2 separate regions of the Homo sapiens genome follow, and region 2 is linked to region 1. The links are contacts of gene promoters, found by promoter capture Hi-C in blood cells and fetal thymus (Javierre and others, 2016). All regions are on one chromosome and are shown on one strand. The core of a region is centred on a gene start or on the middle of the fragment in contact, and the rest is flanking DNA. Distances in the headings are between cores, read along the strand shown. Region 1 holds the start of SAMD9 (sterile alpha motif domain containing 9). Region 2 holds the start of BET1 (Bet1 golgi vesicular membrane trafficking protein).

Region 1 (6,022 bases), core at 2,609-5,108:
AAAAAAGGATGAGTTCATGTCCTTTGTAGGGACATGGATGAAGCTGGAAACCATCATTCTGAGCAAAGTGTTGCCAAGGACAGAAAGTCAAACACCACATGTTCTCACTCACAGGTGGGAACTGAACAATGAGAACACTGGGACACAGGTTGGGGAACATCACACACTGGGGCCTGTTGTGGGGTGGGGGAGGGGGGAGGGATAGCATTAGGAGATATACCTAATGTAAATGACAAGTTAATGGGTGCAGCACACCAACATGGCACATGTATACATATGTAACAAAGCTGCACGTTGTGCACATGTACCCTAGAACTTAAAGTATAGTTTTTTAAAAAAGGAGGAATGACTGAAAATCATGAACCTAATGCCAGTTTAATAAATTGAAAGAAGAATAACAGAATAAAACTGAAATAAGAAGAATGAGAAAAATAAAGATAAGAGCAGGAATTTATAAAGTGGAAAACAAAATGACAAGAGAGACTCAGTGAAGTCCAAGAGCTGTTTAGATAAAAAGTAATAAAATTGACACATCCATGGAATGATTAACCAAAAAATAAAAAAGAAAGGTGGCACAAATAAGCAATATTAGAAACTTTAAAAATGAACCAACTTTAACTGAATAAATTGAAAACTGAGATTAATTGAGCAAATTCTTAAAAAATATAGCTTACCAAACTGACTCTAGAAGAAACCGAAGAAGTCTCACTTCCAGGGTGATGTAGGAGATCACAAAAGGCCACCTATTCACCCACTGCAACCATGAGATCAAAATCTGAAAAATTGCAAAACTCATATTTTTAAGTAATCACAAAGTCATCAATAGACCAGATGACAAGGACTGGATGAACTAAAATTCCAGAGAGGAAAGATCCCTGTCTATGTAAGCTTTGGGGGCATTTGTTGATTTGGGGTTGGGTTTAAGGATTAGACTTGGCCTACCGGGAGGAGGAAAACCAGTGGGGATTTTCATAGTCACAGGGGCGGGTCTAATGAAGTGCAATTAGAAGTGTTCCAAAATGTTTACCGTAATGGAAATGCAAAGTAAAATTACAACAAGATAATACTACATGCCTACCAGAATGGCTAAAATTAAAGACTGTTAATGCCAAATGTTGGTGATGATGTGGAGTCAGTGGAGCTCTCATATGCTGTCTGTGGGAATGTACATTGTTTTAGCCACTTCAAGAAACTATCAGTTTTTGTGAAGTTAAATATATACCTACTCTTTGGATCTGCAATTCTCATGAAAATTATTAAAGTACTGATACAGGCAACAACATGAATGAATATCACATCATACTGTGTGAAAGAAGCCAGTTACAACAGAAAACATATTGTAGAATTCTACTTATATAGTTTAAGAATAGGCAAAAGTAATCTGTCATAGAAGTCAGACTGATGTTGGGGGGTGGATATTTTCTGGGAAGGGGTGATGGAAATATTTTATATCTTGATATGGCTAGCGGTTGCACAGATAAGTACATATTAAAATTTCATAAAGGCTTACCCTTAAGTTTGTTCATTGTATACAAGTTATACTGTATTTAAAAAGCCAATAATGCCTCCAAAATACATTAGAAAATAAAACGGATGAATAAAATAAAAGAGATACTTGCATAAAAAAGATGATGGTGTGTTATGAATCAAGGATAATTGTGAATTCAATGGTATGTGAGGTCCTAAAGTTTTACTAGGTGTTTATTATTGCAGTCTCAGATTATGAACTTTTGACTTCTGCATCCCACTCAGTGTTGATTCAATACTGGTTTTAGAGTTGTCTAAAAACTGACTACACCCTCGTCTAGTAACCATTCTATCTGAGTCACTTTCTTGTATCCATTTACTGAGTCACGTCTACTCCACCCTATGAAAGTATGCTCACTTTTGTTGCACCCACACTATTTAACACATAAAGCAGGGGTCCCCGATTATTGTGCTGCTAGCGTGCGCTGGCTCCTGAGGCCTCATACCTATGGCTCTCATCCCCCATCTCGCCGCTTCCCACCAGTACCCTTTTCCTAGGGTCTCCCTGACTTCCTTCATCAACTTGGACCTTTCACAGTTTTACAGACACAGTCCTTAGTCTCTGGTGATATGTCATAAACTAGATTATGAGACTGGTGAATTAGATGGATTATTTGATTCATGCAAGAACTACATACCATTATATGTGAAAACGTAAAGTCAGGTTCTCATATAAGAGTGTGGGGGATGGAGAACTGGGCCTGAACATTTGGTTGGGAAAGTAAGCAAATAATAAAGAAGTGACTTTTGACTGTTTTCTCTACTAGAGACACTATGAATATTTCAAATGTCATTGAACAGGTTACACTTTCACACTTCTTCCCCTAAAGCTTTTGTCAGATTATTGATAGCTGTGCCTTTCAATACATTATTTTAAAAAAATTGTTGATGATGTCACTCTTGGAGAAAATATATGCCAGCATTCATAGGTATTTATGCCACTGTTCATAGATATTTTACATATTAATGATTTCTTTATACCCTCTCGTTCCAAAATGTTTTTTAGGTAATTTAGAAAGTAATATAGGATCACACATATATTAAAACCCTTAGGTAAAGAAATCATGGGGAAGGCTAAATAAGGGTAGGGGGAGAAAAGGTGAAATGAGGGAGTAAAATTAGTACCTAAAATTACTGGTTTTGATTCCGTATACTTTAAAAACTGACCTGAAAATTTGGTTCTGAGCATCTTAGTAGGAAACACTATTTGTTACTGATTGAACCCACATACATTTTTTAACTCTGGTTGGTGTTAAACTGTAGGGTTTGTTAACTTTTCTAGAAGGGAGTTGAAGGTCAGACCTTTATTCAGAAATGTGATCCTCCAACCGTCTTGCATTATCTTACTGTTTGCTTTGGGGAGAAATTAGACATAAACCTAGTATTTTTGCCAGGAACATAAAGCTGCCTTAATTCCAAAGACTTCCCATAGTAGTCTATCTGTCTGTCTGTCTTCCTATGTATGTCATCCGACAACAATATCTGAGAAGCTCTCAGAGAGTTTTGTTTTCTGGAAGCTACCTATTTCTTAGAGTAGATGGTGGAAGTTGTATTTGATTAAAGTAAAGTACTTTTAAGTTTTCATTGCCTGTTCTTTATCTATCTTTCCGTTTGTTGTTGTTGTTGTTGTTGTTGTTGTTGTTGTTTTTGAGACAGTGTCTCACTCTGTTGCCTATGCTGGAGTGCAGTGGTACAATTACAGCTCACTGTAACCTTAAATTCCTGGGCTCAAGCAATCCTTCTGCCTCAGCCTCCAAAGTAGCTAGACTGCAGCTGCGTGCCACCACATCCAGCTATTTTTTTTTTTGGTAGGAATCTTGCTAGGTAGGGTCTTGCTATGTTGCCCAAGCTAATTTTGAATTCCTGGCCTCAAACAATTCTCCTGTCCTTGCCTTCCAAAGTGCTCAAATTACAGGCTACCACACCTGGCCTGTTTGTTCTTTCTGAAGATGCTGTATGCCTTGGGAGAGTTCATCAATAAAAGTGTCTGTAGTTTTCAACTGCATCTTTAATGAAATGTTATGACTAATTTTTCAACTAATATAAAGCAGACTGCTGTCAGAGCAACAAATAGTCTAGAATTTCTAGGCTTAGAATACTATTTTTTGTTTTGAGGTATATTTGAAGCTTCTAATTGAAAAGTATATTTCTTTCTATTCAATAAAATGCTGCTATAGATAGTAAGAACAATATTAATAATAGATATTGTACTTACCCAGTAGTCTTGCAAATTTCTTTTACATATATGTGGGGAAAACCATCTCTTTTAGTGCTGAAAATATCTGATGTGTTTGTTTTCTTCCTCCTACGATGCTAGAGAAAAGTATTTTCCTCATTCTGGTTTTAACGGAAGTCTATGTATTCTCTGCTTCTGTCTCACAGCAAGCTCTAATTGGCTCAGAAACAGCAGGGCGTGTTTAACAACTGGGAGGTTGGGGAAGGAAGAATATAGGTTTGGTTTCAGTTTCATTTCTCAGATCTGAAATTACAGCACCGCCTTTTCTATCTGAAATGCTTTTTAATAAGCTATGGCTATATACCACCTTCTGGTCTGCTTGGTTAAAATCTGAAGGCTTAACAATTTTTCCTCACTTGAGAGTTTTGAGGGCTGCAGAAAGCCCCATTGTCTTGTTATAGACAAACTGTGGGATATTCTGGCTTAATTGATCCCTTGGGAATATGAGTTTACATTGCAGTCCCAGCCTTGTAGAGCACCAGGTTGGAGATACTCTAGGTCAATATTTCACTGGCCTTTAAGGGTGGAGTTACTGTCCATTCCTGTTTTCCTAAAGTGTAAAGAATGTCTTTCAGGGATAGGACTTCTTTGAGCACCCCAATAAGTGCTAAATTCATTTATTGCAGAGCAGACCAGGGCTGCAGCAGACCTGATGGTCACATTGTAGAGATTTATCTTTTCTAAGGTCAGTGTCAGGGCCAGAGAGAAAACTGCCTGAGTGAGAGCAACAAAAATAGCTGATATTTTAAAAACTAACAGCAAGTACTGATATTTATTGTGTGTGCTCAATTAGCTTTTGGTTTCCACATCCCACAACTGATTCACACTGGTTTTAGATGAAAACATTTAAAAACATTTATTTTAAAATATTTATTGGGCGCTTACCATGTACCAGGCATTGTTCTAAATGTTTCATATTAACTTAATTACTCTTCACAACAATCTCCTGAGGTAGAGATTATTTTTATCTCAATTTTAAAGGTGAAGAAACTGAGGCATAGAGATTAAATAATATGGCTAAAGTTTGCATAACTAATACATGGCAGAGATTCGAATCCAGGTTTCAGGCCAGTGCTCTTAAATCCTGAGGTTTAGGAAGAAAGAAAGTGGCTATGAAGGACAGCCTAGATATGACCATTACACTTATCACCCTCAGGAGCCCTCCTCGTAAGGGGACCCTGGGCCTGAACTCCAAAACCTGGGTTTCACTTTGCATGGGGACCAGTGTGATGGTTAATTTTATGGGTCAACTTGACCGGGCCACAGAGTGCCTAGATATTTGGTCAAACATTATTCTGGTGGTTCTGTGAGGGTGAGGAGGCAGGACTAGCTTGCAGCTCCTGCTGGGACAGACAGGACAGCATGTGGAGACTCACATCATGAACTTTTGCTTCAAGAATTACTGCAGCAACATACCAGGAAAGCCAAGAGAATTCACAGACCCTTTGAAGGAACTGTATCGCCACTGCAGTTTCTCTGAGATGCCAAAAAGAAAAGTCATGAGTCTGCTTGCTTTCTCAGCAGGGAGGCTGATAGCCAGGGGCAAGTTCTCAGCCCTGGTCACCGACTGCCTGGAAATAGATTCGATGTTGTTGGCAGGGGCACAGTGGGAGTGAGACTGGCCTTTAGGAGTGTGGGTTGTGTGGAAATGGGGTGAGGCCTGTGACTGCTGGCTTTTCCCCACTTCCCTGGTGTCCTATGTCACTCAGTGGAGACAGCCATAATCCCCCTGGGAACATAACTCCATTGGCCTGGGAACCACACCCCCGCCCCCTACAGCAAGTGCAGCAGACCCCACCCAATAAGAGTCTGAGCTCAGCCACACCTATGCCTGCCCCAACCTGTTGGTCTTTCTTTACCTGCCCTGGTTGCAAGACAAAGGACATATTCTGCCCACTGCCTCAGAAACATGAATATATAACTAGATGACCCTAGGTCAAGTTTGCTTCCTCCCTATAGTACCACAGCTAATGCACTCTTGAAAATGCCACCTCCTGGCTGGAGGCCAACCAACACAAAACCAGAGCATTTAACGAAGATATAACCAAGGACCCTTACAGAGTCCACTTCACTCCCCTGCTACCTCCACTGGAGCAGGTGCTGGTATCCACAGCTGAAAGACCTGAAGATGTATTACATCACAGGACTCTTTGCCGACACTTCCCAGTACCAGTCTGGAGTCCAGTAGCTCTGCTAGATGACTAGGCCCAGAAGAGAAAAAACAATCACTGCAGTTTGGCTCCCAGGAAGCCCCATCCC
Region 2 (6,022 bases), core at 1,284-3,783, 890 kb after region 1:
ATTTGACAACTTCACCAAGGAATTCATTATAAATTAACTGCTATTTTTTCTTTCCTTTGTTTAGTTGCTTTTGCCTATCTTAATTTTAATTTTAGAGTTCTTCCATGCTGTTCCATTTATTCAAAGTGAAATTCTTGTTGTATTTATCGTCCAGAAATATATCAATGCACATTCCTATTAAAGAGTTGATCTTCCCTCAAACTATGACCCATCCCAAATACAATGACAAAAGTAAAAACCAAATAAAATGCTAGAATTGCTATTCCAAACAAAGCCACTTCTCTTCTGGTGGTGTACTGCTATGAAAAGTTGTAAAAAAGCTAGTGAGTACTGAAGATCATCCTCAGCCTTTGTTTATTTAGATAAACGCTACTTTTTTGGATAGGTTCTATCAGTAAGCTAACAAAACCATTTAGAGATTCATGTGAAGTGTGGCAGCTTCTGCCTATGGATATGTATCAGATTCACTATGATCCCAAATTTAAAATTTCAGGTCAATATGCATTCATACTTTAAAAAAAAAGAAAAGAAAAAATGTGTAACAAAAGCCTTTGTCACTTCACACCAATGTAAATTATAGCAATAGTAGTTACCTAGGTAATTACTTCTCCTCTCAATCACAGAAGAGCTTTTTTTTAAAAAAAAAAAAAAAAGAAAGAAAAAAAAAGGAAAAAAGGAGAAGGTAGTGGGCTCTAAATTGGAGAAATTCTAATTTTACTGGCTGAGCTGAGGTCCAGGTAACAATACTTTAAAAACTTCCCAAGGGATTCTAATGTACAGTCAGGGCTGAGAACCATTACTCAAGTCACTTTCCTGCAATTTAACATGGCACACTGCAGCAGGAAAATACTCAAAAGGGCCTAGGGGCCTACTGATGAAATCCAAACTCTTTGGCCTCGCATGCAAAGATCTCCACAGTGTGATCCCGAATCCCCTACTTCACCCAAACTGGCTTAATCATAATCCCTTACTTCTTTTGAGTTCCTCCTATCTGGAACTCACTTCCCCCACTCTCCATTATTCAAGGTCTACTTCAAATTCCTATGTCTCCACCAAATACACAAAGATCTTCCCCACAAAGTACACAGTGATCTATCTCTGAAATCTCTGAGACCATCCCTTATATGTAGAACTTATCTGGTATTTGGATGTATAGCGACACTTTGTACTACAATTTATCTTTGCACATATTCCTACTCCCCACCTAGACTGGAAGCTTTGGGGATCACAAACAGGGCAACAAACAACTGTATACCTAGAGCTTACTCAAGCACACAATAAATCTTTTTTGGTATTAAGGATGATGAACAAGAAAAACATTTAGACATATAAAGCTAAACTTGCTCAAAATTATTTCTTTTTTTTTTCTCTTCAATTTACCTGGCCCCATTTTCTATGATCTAAGTATTCATAAAAACTTCATTAAAAAAACAAAAAACTTTCTCATACTACAATTTATTGATCAATAAACAAGTCTACGGTTATTGGCAACTTTCACTGACTTTAAATATCTGACACTTTGGGGATTTTTTTTTTCTTTTTTCAATCTTATAATGACTGAGAAAGGTAATATCTTTTTTCAAATGTTTCATTTATTTTCTGAAGTATACTGCACTCTAATTTAGCGGGGTCTTCTTTAAAAAAAAAATCGTGTCCTAAGAGAAAGCTTCAGAACCAGAAAATGCCGTTCTAGTAGCTGTGCGTTACTATAAGGGTCCATTAAAATTCCTTGTGTCTAACTTATTCTTGCTGATGAGCCAGTTTCCTAACCCCAAAGGTAAAGATCAAATGTTAAGTCGCCAAACCTTAACCACGTTCTACTGCCTTAACCGTGGCACAAGGTTCAGATTAAGAAATCGCCTTTGACCCAGAAGTTCCAGTTCCAGGACCTTTAACAATAATGACACATACATTTACCTTTGTAACTCACTGTTACCAGATTAACGACCATTACTAGCGTGCTTTGGGTGCAACCACCCACTCTTCAAATTCCGCTTCTGAAGAAACTAAGATCCAGGGCCAGTAGGGAAACAGAAACCGGAGTCGGGCTTTGGAAAACATAGCAGCGTCCATAACCACGCTCAGTCAATAACACTAAAACACTCGACCACTGAGATGCCACCTGTACACACCCACCCCTAGTCCACTACTTTCTCTAGCCTACCATCCAAACTTGAATCTGACTCAAACTTAAGGAAATTCCAAAGATCTGGGACAAATGGTGTGTTTCCACTCGACATGGACCCCAAAGATCCCCTCTAGACATCCTGTTTTTTGGACCAAATGCCAGGAACATAAGACAGGTTCGATTTCCTCCCGCGCCCCAGCGCTCCCGGTTCTAGGGCCCCGAACTTCGAACCTCAGCCCTCTTCTTACCCAGGCCTGCACGCCTCATCCTGCCAGAGGAGAGAGAGAAAAGGCGGGTGCGGGGCTTTGGGTGAGTAGGAAACAGCTAGGGGCGACCCGGACCGCGTCTTCAGTACCAGGGCCCAGCGAAACACCAACTTCTTCCCCTAAAGCGCCACGACATCAGTGGAGTCTAAACACCGCGCCGGATGATGGCGTCACCACGGCGCTCATTGGAGCCCTGGGAAGAAGGTTGAAAGGCATTCTGGGAAATGTAGTTCACCAACGCATAACGTGTTGCTGAGGGCGTGATGTGAACCCGGTTCCAGGAGCGGACGGGGCGTCCGGAAAAGGGGGCGGCTTCGACTGCGGCTCTGATTCTGGGTCTCTGATCCAACGTTCCCGCTGTTCCGCTCGCAGCCCGCGGGTCGCTGCTTTCAGTTTGTTGACCACCAAGTTTAACCCAGCAGATCTGCTCCTCCCCACCCACAAGAGGATGGTTGGGGTATCTTTCCTGATTTAGCCTCGAACTCCCTCTCACCTCCAGAGACGATTCAGGGAAAGTTAGAGAAAACTTTGTCCAGGTTTCTCAGTTTACAAACAAGTAATCCGACACCCACAGAAGTAACCGATTTGTGCCTTGTAGTATCCAGTAAAGGAAAGAAAACCAGGTTCCTTTGAGTAGGACTCCTGCTCAGATGAGAGCAGACTAGGAAAGGCTGCGGGATCTGGTCAGAGGCACTGAATAGTTAGTTCCCTGTTACTGCATCTGTTGTACTTCTAGAAAGAACCAAGACTTTTAGTTGTTATGGGGACCAAAGGACCCCTAAACGCTCTCCCACTTTTTTTTTTTTAACTTACACAAAGCTTATTGAAATACTGCTTACACAAGGCAGTGTGCCAATTAGGGGTTTAAAACTTGTTGGCGAGTTGGAGGTGTTACTGGTATCGAGGTTAATCCTAGAATTTCATTTTATCTCAGAGGATTTATCGTGAGAATACGATGAAATCGTGGTTTTTGAAGGGAAAACAAAAAAACCTGATACACAGTAGGTGATCAAAATTCACTGGGTGTCTGCGGTTTTGTTGTTGCTGCTGTATATATGGCAGTGGAATCGTCTCCACACTAGAGATTTCCGAATATGTGATCTTTGATCATTTAGCGTTTCCTCATAGTTTCCCAGGACATTATTAACATTGACTATAATACTGGCATAAGTCTCTGCGTTAAGTTGCTTTTGTAAAAAACACATGAAAACAATTTTTAATAAGAGTTATTAACCTGGGAAGGAGGCTTTATCCAATAGTGTTTTGATAGAAAAAAATCATTAAAATAAAACCGCCATTTTCTAAAAGCAATGAAATTAAATAAGCATAATATCAGGGACAATTATTACAAATAAAAGATGGAGATTCAATAAAAGAAATGATAGCTAGGTATCCCTTTATAACTTAAAATCTGTGACAGTCCTTTGGTTAAAAAAATGCATGTTCTATAATTAAAACGTTTAAAAATTGCCTTACAGAAGGCTTGCTGATGGAAATGTAGAAATCGTTATTTTTGAAAATATGGTAATATTTACTAGAACTAATCATTTAGATTACATAAAATATACTGCTTCCTTTACATGGTAGGAAGACATAAGAATGAAATGTAGTTAAAAGGAAAACATATATAATGTACTAAGAATATAACTGAAGTAAGGCAAAGCTAGTTCATATTGAAGTTGTTACCTAAAAAATCCAATTATTGTTTTTAGCTAACGTTGCTAGTATCAAATTAGGATAATGTCATCTGAAAAAAATTTGCACTCAAAGGAAGAGGCAGGAAAAATGAACTCAATGTGCAGAAAAAGAATTATTAAATGTGACCATAGTTGACATTAGCGATCAGAGGGAATCATTTTCACTTTTCTCGTTGTGCTTTTTCCTTTTTAAATTAAAATCCTTAACTTTTCTTACTGATTGAAAGCAAATAAATTTCACAGAGATGAATAGCATTTAGAACCTCTTCTCTATTCTCACAGGATAGTCTCACAGAAAACATCTAATGTTTGTAGGTCTCTAGGAGATAAAGGACTAAAAATTACTTAAAATAATATTAAGTATTCCTTCTAGTAATTACAAAAGCAAGAATAAAAGCAGGAAATGTCTGAATCGAGGTGCAAAATTGGAACTTTTCTTTCTCCTATCTGTCTGCTTCCTGCCTGCCCATTTGTCCTACCTCTTCCTGACCAAATTTCAAGTCCAATCCAAGGGAAAAGAGCATACCAAGCTCTCAAAACTGGTTCAATAAACATTAACACATTTTTCAATCATGAAGCAAATTCAGTATCTCGGGTATCATATTTGAACTGTCACAAAATGTAAACTAGAAACAAAAAGCTCTTGATTTACAAACAAGCTATGGGACAAAGTTTGTTTCTAAGTTTGTTGTTTGGTATTTAAAGCACATTTTCCCTGAAGACTGAAATGATGGTCAGGTTCCCAACTCAGCCCAGAAAACACATGGCTGTTAGAGTTACTATGCTGGCCAATCAAAGTCTGTGTAACCCATAGGACAGCAGAAATACCGCGTATTTTCAAGACCAATAGAAGGAAAATAATGTTGTAATACTTGTGATAAAATAAAGCAAAGCCATTAAAGAAGAAATAGAGTGTTTAAAAATTATTTTGGTTATTCATGTTTGAGAAAGAATGAGTTTTACTTAAAAGTTTTAAGAATGCGAAGAATATTTTCAAGGAGTTTGCAAAAAGTCACCAATTTGATCTGTCTTTTCCATAATTTGGGAATATTACTAGCACTGATGGCAAGCTTTTCAGCCATAGTTTGTAAAAATTAGGCACACAATTCCAACCTTAAAGTCCTCAGCAGAGCCAGACACATAATTTGTGGGGCTCAGGGCAAAATGAAAATGTTGTGCCTCTAGTTCAGAAAACAGGGGAAAAGTTCAGTTAAAGGTATTAAGATACAAAACTTCTCTTTCTTCTGTTTTCTTCTGTAATCTCCCTACCATCGTTCCTCCCCTCCCCACACCAACTTGTCATGGTGTTTTTATTTGCTATTTAATATTCTTCTGAGTAAAGAAAAAAATAAATTATTAGCATTAATTTTACCCTTGATCTTTATATTGTGCAATGACAGTTTTAAATGCAAACATAAGAGCACGCTACTCGTGAAATCACTAAAATTACACATTTGGTATTTTGTACTTTGATATGGTTTGGATATTTGTCCCAACTAAACATCATGTTGAAATGTAATCCCCAGTGTTGGAAGTAAGTCCTGGTGGGAAATGTTTGGATCATGGAGGCAGATCCCACATGAATAACTTAGCACCATCCCCTTGAGTGAGTTCACACGAGATCTGATGTCTAAAAGTATGTGGCACCACCTCCTGTCTCTCTGGGTCCCACTCTCACCAAGTAACCTGCCCTCTCCCGCTTCACCTTCTGCTATGAGTAAGAGCTCCTTGAGGCATTACCAGAAGCTGAGCAGATGCTGGCACTATGCTTCCTGTACTGCCTGCAGAAACATGTGTCAATTAAACCTCTTTTCTTTATAAATTACCCAGTCTCAGGTACGTCTTTATAAAAATGCAAGAATGGCCTAAATAGATACCTCACACATGAATCTGTATTTCATTCTTACCATGGCAGAGCAGTCAAAACACTG

The links. The method cuts DNA at HindIII sites, captures the fragments that hold promoters and counts their contacts. A CHiCAGO score of 5 or more calls a contact.
Region 2: a contact is called between the fragment with the promoter of BET1 here and the fragment with the promoter of SAMD9 in region 1, in 5 of 17 cell types (non-activated CD4 T cells, total CD8 T cells, naive CD4 T cells and 2 more). The highest score is 10.4, in non-activated CD4 T cells.

Annotation. Positions count from the first base shown.
Region 1 is chr7:93,114,121-93,120,142 of GRCh38, forward strand. SAMD9 (sterile alpha motif domain containing 9) reads right to left here and starts at 3,859. Exons shown (of 3, transcript NM_017654.4): 1 at 3,743-3,859; 2 at 675-775. The HindIII fragment of the contact is 4,352 bases long and covers 3,653-6,022 here.
Region 2 is chr7:94,001,822-94,007,843 of GRCh38, forward strand. BET1 (Bet1 golgi vesicular membrane trafficking protein) reads right to left here and starts at 2,534. Exons shown (of 4, transcript NM_005868.6): 1 at 2,377-2,534. The coding sequence starts at 2,395. RefSeq lists enhancers at 1,744-2,350, 2,351-2,956, 2,411-2,460, 2,471-3,100. The HindIII fragment of the contact is 1,547 bases long and covers 1,665-3,211 here.